2 separate regions of the Homo sapiens genome follow, and region 1 is linked to region 2. The links are contacts of gene promoters, found by promoter capture Hi-C in human tissues and cell types (Jung and others, 2019). All regions are on one chromosome and are shown on one strand. The core of a region is centred on a gene start or on the middle of the fragment in contact, and the rest is flanking DNA. Distances in the headings are between cores, read along the strand shown. Region 1 overlaps ZNF780B (zinc finger protein 780B). Region 2 holds the start of MAP3K10 (mitogen-activated protein kinase kinase kinase 10).

Region 1 (4,377 bases), core at 371-2,870, 140 kb after region 2:
GTAATACTTGCCAGATCTCTGTGAGATTCGGCAGTTCCGGTTGCATTTTGGGCTATTTGTGTGAACTGTGAGAGGCAGTACGCTGTTGCGGTTAAGAATAGGGGAGTGGATCCAGAGTATCTGGGTTGGAATGTTTGTTCTGTCCGTTTCTGGTCTTCTCAGGCTTGTAATGAACATTAGAATGAATTAATACTCTAAAACCTCTTAGAGCAGTGCTAGGCATATAATAATAAATGTTTAATGTTTTAGCTTTTGTTTTCGTGTGGTCATTTTAGGTCATTTCCCTTGACTTTCTATAGGACAGGAGCATTGGGAATATGTGATTCATTGTGATTGCTGCTTGCATAGTAAGAAAATGAGTGAGTTGCTCAAATGATCTAGGACAGAAGTTCTTTTTAAATTGACAGATAAAATTGTATGTATTTATCGTGTGCAACATGATGTTTTATAGTATATGTACATTGTGGAATGACTAAATCTAGCTAATTAGCAATGCATTACCTCACATAGTTATCATTTTTGTGGTGAGAACACTTAATATCCACTCTCTTAGCACTACAGAATAGTTATTAATAGTAGTTATTAATAGTAGATACGTTGTTGTGTAATAGATTTCTTGAGCTTATTTCTCTTATCTTCCTGAAATTTTATATCCTTTGACCAACATTTCCCCAGCCAACACCATCTTCCCTCCCTCACCCACATTACCCCCGACCTGTAAACACCATTCTCTTCTCTAATTCTATGATATCAAGTGTTTTCTTTTTTTGAGAGAGAGTGTCTTACTCTGTTGCCCAGGCTGGAGTGCAGTGGCGTGATCTCGGTTCACTGCAACCTCTGCCTCCCGGGTTCAAGTAATTCTCCTGCCCCAGCCTTCCGAGTAGCTGGGACTACAGGTGCATGCCACCACACCCAGCTTATTTTTGTATTTTTAGTAGAGACAGGGTTTTGCCATGTTGGCCAGGGTGGTCTCGAACTCTGGACCTTAGGTGATCCGCCTGCCTCGGCCTTCGCCTCCGCTTTCGAAAGTGCTGGGATTACAAGTGTGAGCCACCGCACCTGGCCTATATGAACATTTTTCAGATTCCACTGATGAGTGAGATCATCTGCCTTTCTGTGCTTGGCTTACTTAATATGAATTTCTCCAGGTTCATCCATGTTGTTGCGAATGACAGCATTTCCCTTTTTTTATGGCTAGTTTTCCATTGTGTATATATACCTGCATATATACCACATTTTCTTTATCCATTCATTGATAGACAGTTAGATTGATTCCATATCTTGGCTATTGTGAATAGTGCTGCAATAAACATGGGTGTGCAGGTGTCTCTTTGGTATACAGATTTCATTTCCTTTGGATAAATATCCAGTAGTAGATTGCTGGATCATATGGTGGTTCTATTTCTAATTTTTTGAGGAACCTCCATGCTGTTTTCCATAATGTCTGTGTCACTTTACATTCTCACCAACAGTGTGCAATGGTTCACATTTCTCTACATTCTCACCAACATTTGTTAACTTATGTCTTTTCAATAGCCACCCCAACACATATGAGGTGATATCTTATTGTAGGTTTAATTTTCATTTCCCTGATGATTAGTAATGTTGAGTATTTTTTCATATACTGTAGCCATTTATATGTCGTCTTTTGAGATGTGTTTATCAGGTCCTTTGCCCATTTTTTAATTGGGTTGTTTTCTTGCTGTTGAGTTCCTCACACGTTTTGGATATTAACCCCTTATTAGATACATGACTGCAAATATTTTCTCTCATTCTGTAGGTAGTCTCTTCACTTTGCTGTGCAGAAGCTTTTTTAGCTTGATGTAATTTCATTTGTCTATGTTTGCTTTTATTGCCTGTGCTTTTGAAGTCATTTCTAGAAAAAAAAATTATTGCCCAGATCAATGTCATGAAGCTTTCCCCGTACGTTTTTTTCTATTTGTTTCATAGTTTGGGATCTTACATTTAAATCTTTAATCCATTTAGAGTTGATTTTTGTATAATGGTTTGAGAAAAGGGTCTAATTTCATTCTTCTGTGTATGACTCCCCAGTTTTCACAACAGTATGTATTGAAGAGACTGTCTTTTCCTTATTGTATGTTCTTGGCACCTGTCTCAAAAATCAGTTGGTTGTAAACATATGGATTTATTCTGGGGCTCTCTATTCTGTTCCGTTTGTCTAGGTGTCTGTTTTTATGTCAGTATCATGCTGTTTTGGTTACTATAGCTTTGTAGTATATATTGAAGTCAGGTAGTTTGATGCCTCCAACTTTGTTCTTTTTGCTCCAGACTGCTTTGGCTATTTGGGTCTTTTGTGGTTCTATGCACATTTTAGGATTTTTTTTTTTCTATTTTTGTCAAGAATGTAGGACTGAAATTCTTAATCTGAGTTCTTGTAACTCCACGTATGGTCTTGGGGACCACAAAGCTCTTGAAATAATGTATTGAAGTACTATGGAAATTTATCAATGTGGGTTTTAGAGGGAGAAATAGTATATCATTTCATAAGACTATCAAAACTGTATGTGACCCATGAGGTTTGGATCCATTGATCTAGATAGAACATTGATTCTCAGCGGGGGTGATGTTTAAAAACTTTTGGTTGTCACACCATGGGGGAGGTGCTACTTAGATCTAGTGGATAGAGGTCAGGGATACTGCTGAACATTGTACCGTGCACAGGATAACCCTCCCTATAGCCCCAACAAAGGATTATACAGCACAATATGTCATTAGTGCCTAGGGTGAAAAACCTTAGTCTAGAATCAAAAGATTGTGATACCTGGAATGACACTGTAAATGATCTTATATAAATCAAGTGTCCTGTAATATGGAAATCACTAAGCAAATTATACTAGACTCAAGTGATAAAGTATTATGCAGCTAATAAAATGATGTCTATAAAGAATTATGAAAAGAAAAATATTTGATATACCATTAAGCAGTATTCATGCTATGAACAATGATACTCAAGAAAATGTTACATGTATATGAATCCCATATACTAAGATAGGGTTTTTGTAAGGCATTCTGTAGGAATTGTATCCAAAATGATATTTTAATGAGTTATTTGGTGAAGAAGGGAACCAAGCATGGTGATGTACATTCCACAGATTTTCTCATGTAGTTTCCAGATGCCACTTATCTGCATTGTGTTCATTCAGAGAAGAGTCTTGATAATGAAAATGTCTAATTATATTGGTGAGATACAGCTAAAGGATGTCAGAACTAGCTGATGTTATTTGTTATAGTCACATTAATCTTTTTGATCCTCATGACAGGCACAGTTTTTTGTTTTTTATGATTAAAAGTACTCACTCTCTGTTAACTCTGTTTTATTTTTATTTTTGAATTCGGATGTAGAAATATGACCATCATTAATGCATACAAGAAATTAGTTGAAGACTTGTAGACAATTTTTTTTAGAAATTGTACTAACATACATAGAAAAACATAGACATCTTAGTGTTGGTCAAGAATTGGGAAATAATGGAAACAAATTTATTACATAAAAACAAGAGCTCAGTAGAGTTTCCTTTTTTTGTCCCCACGTTGAAAGGAAAATGTCTAAATAAAAGATGTCTTTCATCTAATTTGGAGAACAATTTCCTCGCAAGAAAAAAAATGTGTATGTACATTTAAATATGTACATATATAGATACATACACATGTGTATATGTGTGTATATATGTGTGTGTGTGTGTGTGTGTGAATATAATTATATATTCTAAGTTAAATGCCTGGGCATAGTCACAATTATGACATACTCTTTAGCAAAAAGAAGAAAATTGGGGCTACAATACAGAGATAAGCACTGTTAGCATGCATATACCTGTCTAAATTTTTGTATTGATGTCTATTAGTCTTTTGCTTAATATTTCTATATACATATATTTTACAAATGTAATCGTATTGTTTATCCTGCTTTGTAACCTGATTTTTCTGTTAATCATATGTCTGGAACAATTAATGATTACTTTGTATTCTATTACATGGCTATTCTGAACTGTACTTACCCCAGCTGGCTTTTGGTGAACTCAGAATGCTGAACACTGCCCATGCAATTCTGTCTATATCCTTTCCAGTTCTCATGCCTTGCCCCACTGCACCCAATCCTGAGTTCACAAAGAGGTTCTGGATTGGATGATGCAAGCCCTTCTCAGCTCTGAAAGGTGGACTAGGGGAGGAGGATTGCTTACAGCAGGATCAGAGGCCCAGTCCTAGGCCAAGATTGGTATCCCAAGAGTGGAGGACTGGCTGGAAGCCACAACTTCAAGGCAGAAATGCCTGTGCTCGGCATTCATGCTTCCGCCGCAGGTTCCCTGGGATGTAGGCGAGAGCTTGGTTTCATCCACACTCCACCTGTTCACTGCCAGT
Region 2 (3,957 bases), core at 402-2,901:
TAGGCTCTTTTTGTCTCTGCCTGGTGGACTCTGGCAGCATGGCTGGATGGCAAGCACCTTGAAGGCAGGCACTGCATCTGTCCTGTTCATGCAGGGAACGCAGGTGTTCATGGATACATGTTTACTGAGCGATTGTGACTCTGCAGCCTGGGAGGCAGGTAAGTCCTTCAACCTTTCTGAGCCTCCTTTTTCTCCCTTAAGGCAGGCAAGGCCTACCTCACCTTCACCCTGAAGGTATCATACTGCTGCCCCTTCTCACTCCAGGCACAGTGTCATCTGGTGTCCCTCACCCTGTTTCCCACCACCTAGGCCTGGCCTTGAGAGGTTCTGTGGAAGGAATTTTGGGGAGAGGACACCACTTACTGTTGATGGACTTGAGGTCCCGGTGGATGATGGGCACAGGGGCATCATTGTGTAGGTAGTTCATGCCCCGGGCCACCTGCACAGCCCAGTTGACCAGCACGTGAGGTGGCACCCGGCGACCTGCCAGCACCCTGCTCAGTGCACCACCCCGGGCATACTCCATCACTAGGCAGAGGTGTGGGGGGTTGAGGCAGGCGCCCCTAAGGGCAATTATGTTGGGGTGCTGCAGGGCTCCAAAGAGCCGGGCTTCCTGGCACACCTGCTCCGCTGTCACTGCCGGGTCCTTCTCAGGGTCCAGCCGGGCGGCCTTGACTGCCACCTCCTCGCCACGCCACAGGGCCCGATAGACCTTGCCAAAGCCCCCCACACCGATGATCTCCTCTAGCTGCAGCTCGTGGAAGGGGATCTCCTGGGGCAGCTGGAGGCCCGCGGGTGCAGCGGGGGCGCCGGGGGCCACGTAGTTGCTGGGGAAGACGCCCACGCGGCCGCTGGGGAGCTGCCCGGTCCACCAGCCCTCGTCGCCGGACACCGCACAGTCTTGGGAAAGCACCTGGACGCGATCGCCCCTCCGCAGGGTCAGCTCCTCGTCGCCCGCCGCCTCGTAGTCGAACACCGCGGTCCAGACGGGCCCCGCGGGGGTCGTGCCCCACTCCTTGGCCACCGCCCCCTCCTCCTCCTCCATGGGGGAGGGGCCGGGGGCTGCGGGAGGCCGCTTCACACAGGCTGCCCGCGGGATGCAGAGGGCGGGCCCCGGCGGCCGGGATGGAGGGCAGTCCCTGCGGGGTCTAGGGAGCTCCTGAGGGCCATGGCTGGGGCGCCCTCCGCAGGAGCAAGAAAAAAAACCCTTTCAAAGGGCAGGCTCGTCCCTTCCGATTTGGCTGTACGGGCGGGGCGGGGCGGGGTGGGAGTGGGGCGGCAGGTTCACCCGTGCCCCCCAAACGGCAGAGGGCTAAGAGGGCCTGGCCGCGCGGCTCTCGAATGCCCGCCGGGGTCCGCCGGTGGGGGACGAGGGCGAGGGCGGCAGGCAGTCCCCGTTCCCCGCGCCGCTCACCCCGCGCAGCTCCACCGGCGGCCCCCGGCTCCGCATCCCGGGCCACGACTGCCGGGCCGGGCGGGGGTGGCGGGGCCCCTGGGGCGGCCGCCCCGGGCCGGGGTGGCGCGCCCCTCGGCCTCCTCACGCGCGGGGCAGCCGGGCGGCCCCCATCCTTGGCACCGGCCTCCCGGTCGGCCCCAGCCCCTGCCCCCCGCCCGTGCTGCTTCCCCGGGCCACCGGCGGGGCCCGAGTGACGTGTGGGCGCCGCCGCCGCGGTGCCTCCTGGGAGTTGTAGTCTCCGGCCGTGCGGCCTCGGGGCCCGGCTCTCAGCGCCCTCCAGCAGAGCCCCGCGGCCAGCCTCGGGCCGCAATGGACATGACACCCCACGAAGCCGAAGGAGTCCTCCCGGGGAGATGAGCCCGGCCTCGGCCCCTCCTTCGGACGCGGCGTAGCGGGCGCCCGGGGCGGGGGGAAGCGCTCCTCACAGACCCTGTGGGGGCCGCGGCCCAGGATGGGTTGGACTGCAACGGACGCGATTAGCAACGCGAAAAATAGGAGCTGCGTGCATGACTGTGACTGCCCGGAGCCGCGAACGCAGCCTGGACCTTATCCCTGAGGCAGGACGGCCCCTCGGACCCCCCGACCGAGATGTACGCTGGGAACTGTAGTCCGCGCGGGGACCTGGCGCTGCAGGGGGCGGCCCCCAAACAGCGGGCTGCGGGCGTCGGCGGGTGGTTGGAGCAAGTTAGGGGTCGGGCCGGTGGCGGGACTCTGCGGGGAAGATGGGGCTGGGAGGATGTGTTTAGTGTCCCTGGGGATGTCACAGCCACGTCTGCTTTCCCCACCAGCTCTGGGTTCCTCTGCTGAAGTCAGAACTCCTGCTCTTGAGAATCCCCGATTCCTATTTTATAGGAGTTTCAATTTCGGGGAGCTTAATGTGCATGTTGTATTCAGTGCTTTGTACACGTGGTATCGTTAAGTCTTCACAAAGAGCCCCATTTTACAGATGACTCATAGAGAAGTGAAGTCATTTGTGCAAGGCTACAGAGCTATAAATGGCAAAGCAAAAATGAAAGGCAGTTTTAAAAATTAACAACCAGGCCGGGCGCGGTGGCTCACGCCTGTAATCTCAGCGCTATGGGAGGCCAAGGCGGGCGGATCACGAGGCCAGGAGTTCGTGACCAGCCTGGCCAGCATGGTGAAACCCCCGTCTCTACTATTTAAAAAAAAAAAAAAAAATTAGCCGGGCGTGGTGGTGTGCGCCTGTAATCTATCCCAGCTACTCGGGAGGCTGAGGCAGGAGAATCGCTTGAACCTGGGAGGTGGAGGTTGCAGTGAGCCAAGATCACGCCACAGCACTCCAGCCTGGACGACAGGGCAAGACTCCGTCTCAAAATAAATAAATAAATAAATAACCATCGCCACGATTAACAAAAACAACAACAACAAAAAAAAAAACAACAAAAAACAAACAAACAAAAAACCCACTGCCTTTCTATTTAAAGAATGAGGAAAGTAGGTCCCGCAGAGGTTCAGTGACTTCTTCAAGATCTCTAAGCTTGTAAGAGGCAAAATTCTGGGTCTTTTTACTTGGCCTCTCCTGAGTGGTATGGGGTCTAGAGGGAGGAGAGAAGAAGAGGAAATAAGAGGGACTCTAGTGCCCAAACTCCAGAGAACTGCCCCTCAGGGTCCTTGGGGAATTGTTCCATTGTCAGAGGGAAGTGGGTTACCTGGTCTCCTGGCTACCTAGCAGGGACACTCGGAGCATATCAAAAATGCTTGTTGGAAGAGAGAGCCCCAGCTTCATTCTGAGTATAAGTGTTTCTGCTATAACCTGCTATATGCATTCTTAAAAAACCTTCAGTTCTTCAAAACGGTGCACTAAAATTAACAAGACTTCATGGAAAAAATAGAGTTAGAGACAGATTGCTCAAAATATATGCAACTAGCTGGGCACGGTGGCTCATGCCTGTAATCCCAGCACTTTCAGAGGCCGAGGAGGGAGAATTACTGGAGTCCAGGAGTTTCAGACTAGCCTGGGCAACATAGGGAGACTCCGTCTCTACAAAAAAATAAAAAATTAGGCGGGTGTGGTGGTGTGCACCTGTGTTCCCAGCTACTCGGGAGACTGAGGTATAGGGGTATTACCTGAGCCCAGGAGGTCGAGGCTACTGTGAGCTGTGATTGTGGCACTGACTGCACTCCAGCCTGAGAGACAGAGCGAGACCCTGACTCAAAAAAAAAAAAGTAAAAATAAAAACCTGTATACAACTTTTTTTTTTTTTGAGATGGAGTCTCACTCTGTTGCCAGGCTGGAGTGCAGTGGCACGGTCTTGGCATACCACAACCTCCGACTCCCTGGTTCAAGTGATTCTCCTGCTTCAGCCTTCCGAGTAGTTGGAATTACAGGTGGGCGCCACCATGCCCAGCTAATTTTTGTATTTTTAGTAGAGACAGGGTTTCACCATGTTGGCCAGGATAGTCTCGATCTCCTGACCTCGTGATCCGCCCGCCTTGGCCTCTCAAAGTGCTGGGATTACAGGTGTGAGGCACCATGCCCG

What was found. The method cuts DNA at HindIII sites, captures the fragments that hold promoters and counts their contacts. A contact is called where the count stands out against the background at its distance.
Region 1: a fragment that was not itself captured here is called in contact with the fragment with the promoter of MAP3K10 in region 2 in 4 of the 25 tissues and cell types used here (dorsolateral prefrontal cortex, hippocampus, lymphoblastoid cells and 1 more).

Annotation. Positions count from the first base shown.
Region 1 is chr19:40,050,547-40,054,923 of GRCh38, reverse strand. The region is part of intron 1 of ZNF780B (zinc finger protein 780B); the gene reads left to right. Among named protein-coding and RNA genes, the nearest start is that of ZNF780B, 3.5 kb to the left of the region's middle. The HindIII fragment of the contact is 4,300 bases long and covers 1-3,770 here.
Region 2 is chr19:40,189,120-40,193,076 of GRCh38, reverse strand. MAP3K10 (mitogen-activated protein kinase kinase kinase 10) reads right to left here and starts at 1,651. Exons shown (of 10, transcript NM_002446.4): 1 at 364-1,651. The coding sequence starts at 1,045. RefSeq lists silencers at 954-1,253, 1,524-2,023 and an enhancer at 2,184-2,423. The HindIII fragment of the contact is 11,839 bases long and covers 1-3,678 here.